3 separate regions of the Homo sapiens genome follow, and all the other regions are linked to region 1. The links are contacts of gene promoters, found by promoter capture Hi-C in blood cells and fetal thymus (Javierre and others, 2016). All regions are on one chromosome and are shown on one strand. The core of a region is centred on a gene start or on the middle of the fragment in contact, and the rest is flanking DNA. Distances in the headings are between cores, read along the strand shown.

The links. Contacts are between HindIII fragments. The CHiCAGO score rates a contact against its expected background, and 5 or more counts as called.
Region 2: a contact is called between a fragment that was not itself captured here and the fragment with the promoter of AP3B1 in region 1, in 1 of 17 cell types (naive B cells). The highest score is 5.0, in naive B cells.
Region 3: a fragment that was not itself captured here is called in contact with the fragment with the promoter of AP3B1 in region 1 in 1 of 17 cell types (M2 macrophages); the score reaches 7.4 in M2 macrophages.

What each region holds. Positions count from the first base shown.
Region 1 is chr5:78,293,301-78,296,049 of GRCh38, forward strand. AP3B1 (adaptor related protein complex 3 subunit beta 1) reads right to left here and starts at 1,398. Exons shown (of 27, transcript NM_003664.5): 1 at 1,152-1,398. The coding sequence starts at 1,279. RefSeq lists enhancers at 1,661-2,234, 2,609-2,658. The HindIII fragment of the contact is 5,219 bases long and covers 1-2,749 here.
Region 2 is chr5:78,964,896-78,967,595 of GRCh38, forward strand. All of the region lies in intron 2 of ARSB (arylsulfatase B), which reads right to left. Among named protein-coding and RNA genes, the nearest start is that of ARSB, 19 kb to the right of the region's middle. The HindIII fragment of the contact is 206 bases long and covers 1,179-1,384 here.
Region 3 is chr5:77,558,435-77,561,171 of GRCh38, forward strand. It overlaps a transcript of WDR41 not described here. Among named protein-coding and RNA genes, the nearest start is that of WDR41, 67 kb to the left of the region's middle. The HindIII fragment of the contact is 1,479 bases long and covers 514-1,992 here.

The sequences.
Region 1 (2,749 bases), core at 148-2,647:
AGTAGAGGCAACAAGCTCCGTACTTGTTCTAGAACAATGGATCATCAAATGCATATAATGAAAAATGAAATCAGTTACCTTACTTTTAAACTTTTCTAACCTTGGGAAAAAGGAAAAGATTGTATCTTACATGCTATATATATGATTTTGATCCTCAATACAGCCAAAATGTAATCCCAATTTGAAGTAGTAGCACTTTCTAGACTACCCAATATTGTTAGTAACGTTTAATTTAAATTTTAATTATACCCTCTAACAGATCTGCAAAGCTACTAGCACAGCTATTCTACCTTAATTTAGCATGAATTTAGTGACAGACTATTATGTGACCCTATTGCTTAGTAATGAAAGATTTAAAATAAGAGAAATGTAAAAATGATAATTCTGGTAAATGTAACCACTACCACCAACCCACCCCCCAAAACAAACAACTTGGGATTTCTTTCCATTTCTCGGTGATACTTTTTACAAAACTAAGTGTACCTTGTTTAACATTCGTTTTTAAAATTCACATTATTAATCTGTAAAAGTTTTGGATTTGTTCACAGTAACACTCTTTTAAAATATTTTCTATTCATATGCTTATTTTGGATTGGTGTTTTTGTCTGTAGTGCAAAGGACATAATCCAAGAACATTAATACTGGTGTAAACCAGTTTGTCCATTCAAACAGCCTAAATCCACCTCTCTGCTCCTACACTCCGGGGTCACAAAATAACTTCCCACAAGCAACACTCGCACTCTCACCTTCACCAAAACACTCCTTTCACCCTAATCAGGGAATGTATTAAAGTCTGATCCGGCGAACGGTAAATAAACTAGAAGACGATGCTCAAAATTCAGACTCCTGAGCCCAGCCCAAGTCCAATTCAATCAGTGTCTTCAGGGGTGGGATCTAAGCTCACCAAGTGGTTTCCTTTTCACTAAAGTTTGAAAACTACTAGAGACCCCTACACACATTCGCCCCAAACTCCCACAACTCCCACCACCGCCAACCAACCCCACCTACCCACCCGCGGGACACGTTACCGCCCTGCCCTGCTCAGACCTCAGGGCGACCCCGCTCCTCTCCAGGAAGCCCACCCTGGCGCCCACTCCTCCGAGTCCGCAGCTCCTCCCTCCCATCCCCGCAACCCAAACCTTTCTCCTCACTTCTTCAAATCGCTGCTAAAGAGGCCGAAGGCCCCCGAGGGGGAAATGGTTGAGGTCGCCTCCTGACCCAGCTCCGTCGCCTCCCCTCCTCCGGACTGCTCATTGTAAGGAAAACTATTGCTGGACATTGCCGCGGTGCTGGCGGGTGCGGGGTTGGTCCTGCCGGGGGTTCTCTCCAAAAGGTTCCAGTCCAGAGGGCACGGAACAAAACTAGTTCTCGTACGGAGGAGCGCGCGCAGGCGCTTCCGGACTCGTCACGGCTCCCTGAGCCGACCTGGCAGTCCACCCCCTGCGCATGCGCAGTGTGCAGGCCTGCTAGATTACCACCCGGGCCATCCAGGCCTGCGCGGACTTTCCTGCTCCGGGCTTTAGAGGTAGCTGAGCGGCTGCGAGCCGGACTGCGGAAGGGGAGGCAGCGGGTGGCTAACTGCCCGGCTCCCGGCCCGTTTGAGGTGTGTCTTTGGAGAAGGATACCCATTGCATCCGTTTTGATCCGTTAAGGAGTTTCCAGAGCCCGGACAGCTCTTTGCTATACTTCAGTAAAGCAATAGTTTTCAGATTTCTCCGGAAATGCCATTTAGCACGCCAGATCACCTTTCCTAAACCCATCACGATCGCTTTTCCTTTTCTTGCTTGTTTCGGCTACTCTCTTCCATCCGGCTTTGCCTTACTTTCATATCGGTCCCAAACAACTTTTCTCCTAGACTTTAAGGAGGCCTCTCCCAACGATGGTTTGGAGGATCCGCACAGAAGCGACCATTCCATCTTTTCAATGAAAGTCTTGGGGGCAGACCGGGCGCGGTGGCTCACGCCAGTAATTCCAGCACTTTGGGAGGCCGAGGCGGGTGGATCACTTGAGGCCAGGAGTTCGAGACCAGCCTAGGCAACATAGCGAGACCCTTTCTCTGCAAAAAATATAAAAATTAGCCGGCGTGGTGGCGCGTGTCTGTGGTCCCAGCTACTGAGGCTGAGGTGGGAGGATCACTCGAACCCAGAAGGAGGGGGTAGCGATGAGTTGAGATCTCTCCACTGCATTCCAGCCTGGGCGACAGAGCGAGACCCTGTCTCAAAAAAATGAAAAAGAAAAGAAAACATCTTGGGGCCACCAGTTCCCGTTTGGAGCTGAAGTGGTGCGTCCTATTGGCGTCTAGCTACCAAAAATAAAATGGACCACCTCGCGCGCCAGTCGTGTTACTCACTAATATGCACTAGGGAGCCTAGGCGGGATGCTTGCCTGGCCCCAGAGTAGCTCTCTCCGGGTGCTGGCACCCGAGAAAACCTCTTTCCCGGGGTGCCTTCCCCCAGCCCGCCTTCTCAGGTGGGTTTCAGCGCCTTCCCTCTCTTCTCCCCAGTGCCTCCCGTCCAAGGAAGGCATTAACACCCAAAGCCCTGGCGGCCAGGTACTGAAACTGTCAAGGGATTCTACCAGGTAGAACGCGAACCTGGAGGCCGGCCGCCCCAGGGAAGGCGGTGGGGCGTTTTCAAGGATGAGAGTATGATCTCCAAATTTCAAAAGGTCACACTGTCACTGTGGAAGCACGCAAGAGCGTGGCTCTGGGTGGGAGAGGAAGGGACGTCCTCCAAACTTGATCGTCTGG
Region 2 (2,700 bases), core at 32-2,531, 670 kb after region 1:
AAAATCTCAATCCTTCAAAGCTATATAATGGTAAAAATAATGTACAGTTAATGTGACTTGTTACAGGTTTTTACTCTAAGGTGATCACATAAATGAGTGCAGGATTCAAACAATGTTTGTTGTTACTGATGTTGCGAGACTGGCTTCAAGGTTATTTACAGAAGTGGTTCTAGGAAGAGTCATCTTTAGTCAGATGCTGACACCCACTGGTGAAAGATACAAACCTTTCCTAATAGAGGATCTCTAGACATAACAGAGCCAACAGATCAAACTAAAGTGAGCACTGAAATAAGACTTTTCTACCTAAAATGATCTCAATTTCACCCCAGATTTAAATGGCATCAACGGCCTATCCCATAATTTAGACTTCACATGGAAGAAAATGGGTTTTCTCAAATATAGTTGTTTCTGCAAATGTTCCATCTTTTCTATATTTTAAAATATTATATTTCTATATTTTAAAGTATTAAAATAAGCTGTGCTACGTATGATTCCACTTGTATTAAATGCCCACAACATGTAAATCTATAGAGACAGAAAATAGATTAGTGGCTGCCTAGGGCTGGAGGGACTAGGGGGAAATGGGGAGTGATTGCTGAGGTGGATGAGTTTCTTTTTTGGGGATGATAAAAATGTTCTACAATTGGATTGCCATGATAGTGGCACAACCTTCTGAATTTATTAAAAATCATTGAATTGTACACTTTAATTGGGTGAATTGTATGATATGTGAATTATACTTTGATAAAGTTATTAAAAAGAAATATTTGCTAGACTCTTAGCTATCTCCTGACATATACTGCTTATTAACCTTAAAATGAGGATGATAAAATTGACCTAGCTCTTTCTTCAGTCCTGAACTTTCCCTATAATGAAAATTAAGAGCTTTACATAGTTTATATAATAAATCAATTCATTTTAAATTAAATTCTCCTTTTCTATGACTCAATAAATTCAAGATCTTGAATACAATTAATACTTTGGTCTTAAAATAACTTTTATATGGCAATCTTTTCTCCTATGTATATAATGGAAAACGAAATACAAAGTACTTGTTAATTAATGTGTAACAGAGAAAGAAATGTATCCATAAAAATAATTTCAGCCCTTACATGGGTGATTAGAATGTCAGAACACTGGAGGTCTATTTAAGGTTTTTAATAACTACTGGGCATTAAAGCTTGAGGAAATCACTTCAGGTTCTTTAACTGTTAAGTGTGAGCTGCTTTCTATCAGTTAGCAGAATATAGGACAGATACACTTCATTAGCAAAGGCATGAACTACAAATATTTAAAAGATAATACAGATAGGAGAATTCCAGAAATAAAACTATTCACATACTTGGCAAAACTAATACCAAGCAACCATGTGACAATCACATGAAGCTTTTCTTCATAATAATGATTCACAAATTTGAACTTCAATACTGAGCCTAAAGATGATGGCAGCCTATGCTTTTGGGGGAAAAAAATAGAAAATGCTTCTTGAACAACCAAATCTTCTCTGATGCTTTATGTACCAGCTGCATTGAGATATAATTCACATACCACACAAGTCACTCATTTAAAGTGTAAAAGACATTGGTTTCTAGTGTATTCACAGGCTTGTGCAACTATCCCACCATCACCTGATTTTTAGCAAAAGAGCTGAGATGTAACAGTGAGAAGAGCTGTGTGGTCATCATAACCTTCTTGGCTGCAAGTCTCCCTTCAAATGAATTTGGGGTGTGTGTTCATCTAAATCCAGGTTAGGCTTCTTAATTCTCATAAAAGGATATCATTTCTACCTTCTGTCCAGCTGAATTTTTAAGTACCTAACTTGGTTTTAATAAACAATTCAAAATATCTACAGCCCATCCTCTTCCCAGAGTATAGATATTGACTCATCTTTTAGCAAAGGCCTGATTGAAAAATTTCTAAGGATGTACAGGCTGTTTGCTCCTCTAGAATTTCCAAGATGACAAAGTGATCTTACATCAAGTCTAATTTTAACAGCTATTTGAGGTACTGAGAATACATCCGGGTCCATTTAAAAAAAAAAAAAAAAAAGCTAAGATTGAGTAGTGAGGTCTGCTGGTGGACCTGGATGAGAGTGGGGCACACACACCCTCCTGTCTGACATCCTTGCATCTTGATTTTAACCCTGAATCCAATGAGGCATTACAGAGCCATGTGCTTCAGCTGCATTGTTTTGGCCCCCATATAATTACTTTTACTGAATTGCACTTTGGTGCTCTGGCCCTAGCTTGAACAGAAGAAAATACCTCAAAACATCTACAAGAAAACCACCTAACGTATTATTAAAATGACATTTTTAAAGATGTTGTCCACCTTACCTTCTCCTTCTCCCAAAGGAGAAATTTCTGTCAGGCCTAAGAGCCAGAAAATGCTTTTGCTTTTCCTGAACATCTGGTTTCCATTTATCTTGTAAATAATGTAACTCTTATAGTCTTTTCCTTTCTTTCTCCCTCTTCGGACAAATAAATTTCAAATCTCAGGCTGGGCGCGGTGGCTCACACCTGTAATCCCAGCACTTTGGGAGGCCAAGATGGGTGGGTCACGAGGTCAGGAGTTCGAGACCAGCCTGACCAACATGGTGAAACCCTATCTCTACTAAAAATATAAAAATTAGCTGAGCGTGGTGGCACACACCTATAATCCCAGCTACTCAGGAGGCTGAGGCAGGAGAACTGCTTGAAC
Region 3 (2,737 bases), core at 3-2,502, 740 kb before region 1:
AGCAGATTGCCGCATTCACCAAAAGAGCCTCGCTGACCTGCACCGAATTCCCCAGAGGACTGGGCCCTACTTATTTTTACATCATTAGCCCTCTTGGGGCAGGCTGAGGTCATTTCCAATTTGAAAACGACCTTGGATCACAAGCTGAAGTTTTCCATTTGTTTACGCTATTAAACATCCTGAGATATGATTAATAAGTCTTCTGCATAGAGAAATAAGTTTATTTCTAACAAACATGGTCCTTGACATGTTTCTACTATTTATGTTATTGCAGTGAGTTCATTCCACAAACTAATTTTCCAGCACTTTCTAATCTTAGCATTGTTTGGCAGTCTCTTAAACTCAGCAATAAGTTGTCTGATAAACCAATATGCAAGACATGAATTGTTTAGAAAATTATGAATATGTGATTACTTTCATCCTTTCAAAATAATAAAGTCATTGAAAAAATATTTTTTTTCTGTATTTTCCAAATTATCTATTACACTAAGGGAAAAAAACCTTAATTTTTAAAGCTTAACAAGAAATTGTGGGCTAAGATTCCTTAGGGAATCAAATATACATTTCACTTCTTGTAAAAGGGTCTATGAAAGCTGTTATTACTCTTTTAGGAGAGCTCAAGAATAAATAACAGACACATGTATTGAGTTGCTCTGTGTGTATTAAAGACAGTGGTACGCTGGTAAATAGTTAACAACCAGCTATATAGAGAGGGAAATAGCCTTGACTTGATTTGTAGCATTTGCCAATTTCTGTCATGTAAACACTCCCACTGTGGCCAATTTCAAGCTACCAATTTGATATCACTAAATGTCGAGTTGGGGAGAAATGTACCACACAGATACAAAAGATAGATGTAAATAATCTTAAGAGTATAGATGTTAAAATGCAGCACCATAATTAGAAAGTGATGTTTTTGAGCAGTTATTACATTAATATAAATTTTAAATTACAAGTTTATATAATTTGATTGTTAATAATTACTGTGTTTAACAACAGGCTGGCAAAATTCTTGAAGCTGCTTTAGCAAGGCACTAATTAGACCGTACTGGTGGTAATGTACTACCCAATCCAGTACAACAATTAGTAGATGACAGAATTCAATATATGGACATGATTTTTATATAATGTTGTTATATAAATATAATGTTGATGTATACATAACATATCTATAATTTGTTATATGTCAGCATTATATATAATATATATTTTCATTATATCTAATGTTATATATAAAACTTTATATATAATGTTATGTGTGTGTGTGTGTATTCCTACATACTCATGACCTTTATATAGGAAAGAGTCCTGAAATCCTCCTTTAAGGTAATTGCTTGGTAAACTGTATACACAATTCAATCACAGCCATGCTACTGAATTGTTTTGCAGATAACAGACCTAATTTTCAGAATTACCTCTTGGTCCAGCCAGATCAGAGAGAACAAAGCAACACATAATTTCTGGATTCCTAACAAAGTCATCTAGCAGGCCTAAAAGAACTCCAGTATCATTCCCAATCTATCTAGTCAGTGTGTGAGACACAAGGTAGGAAAGGAAAAAGGGGGAAAAGGGAGACTCCCAAAGGATCCCTTCCACAATTAATTATGCAAATCACAAGTAAATTAGACACTAAAATTTTAAGATTGATTGAAAGGCTTGCTCAAATTGCTTTAACTGTGATTCATAAACCAATCACACAAATTCATCTGTTAGGTTGTATAAAAAAATTAGAAAGATGTAGAATGGAATAAGATTACCTTAATTTAAATGTAAAAGACATGGTTGCTGAAGTATGAGTCTCTTATACCATAAGCACTAGCCCATCAGATGTTAACAAAATCTGATATGCAACAGTTTTACATATCCCCTTGTGGGAGAAAGATCAACTTGTGATCTGCTTTATAAATCAGCTACAGTGTTAGAGTTAGGCTACTGTAGCTAAATGGCTTTTAGATATGCTTCCTGTTTTAAGCTACCATATTTACAAATGAAAGCTTTTTCAAACCATGGCTTTTAATATAATTTGCATATTTAGTAATACATTGATTAAAATTAAACACGGATTATTGCAATTTATTTCAGAAACAGATGGGATGCATTAAATGAAAAGCCAGAGTTTTTAAATAGAACAGACTCGCTGGCTGACTACTGATGAATGATGAATATAAAAACTTTGTAAATTGGCAAAAAGAAAAAAAAAGTCCTTTGCGCCGATTTCTTTTCAAGGTTTTCCTGACTAGTGATTCCAGGAAATTAGTAATCAAGTTAATTTAAAATGAATAATTTATATCAAAGGTATGCATCAGCTTAATGAAAGCAGATTTCTCAGAATTAAAAATGCTTCCACAAACTTTGAATCTTCCTTGTCTACAGGGTATGTGTTCTCAGGTTTTCCTAATTATGGATTTGATAGGGTTCACCAGCAGATGGCATTCTTCCATTACATACATTCCTGCTGGATTGCTTTGCATTTACAGTTTCATGAAACTTCTTCACCAGCTAGTGTAAATTAACCATGAATTCACTCAACGGTAGAGATAGCTGGGTTGAAGCATTTGTTTCTGAAATGGCATATTCTTAAAATAGTCTTGGTTGCCCCAAACCTGATTAGATGTTGACAAGTATTTCATTTTTACATTGTTCTCTGTATCCATTGTTTTGTTGAATATCATTCACAAAAGCTAATTTTAGTAGGAATAATGTATAAGTGAATATTAGCCTCTTGTCAGTTATTTCA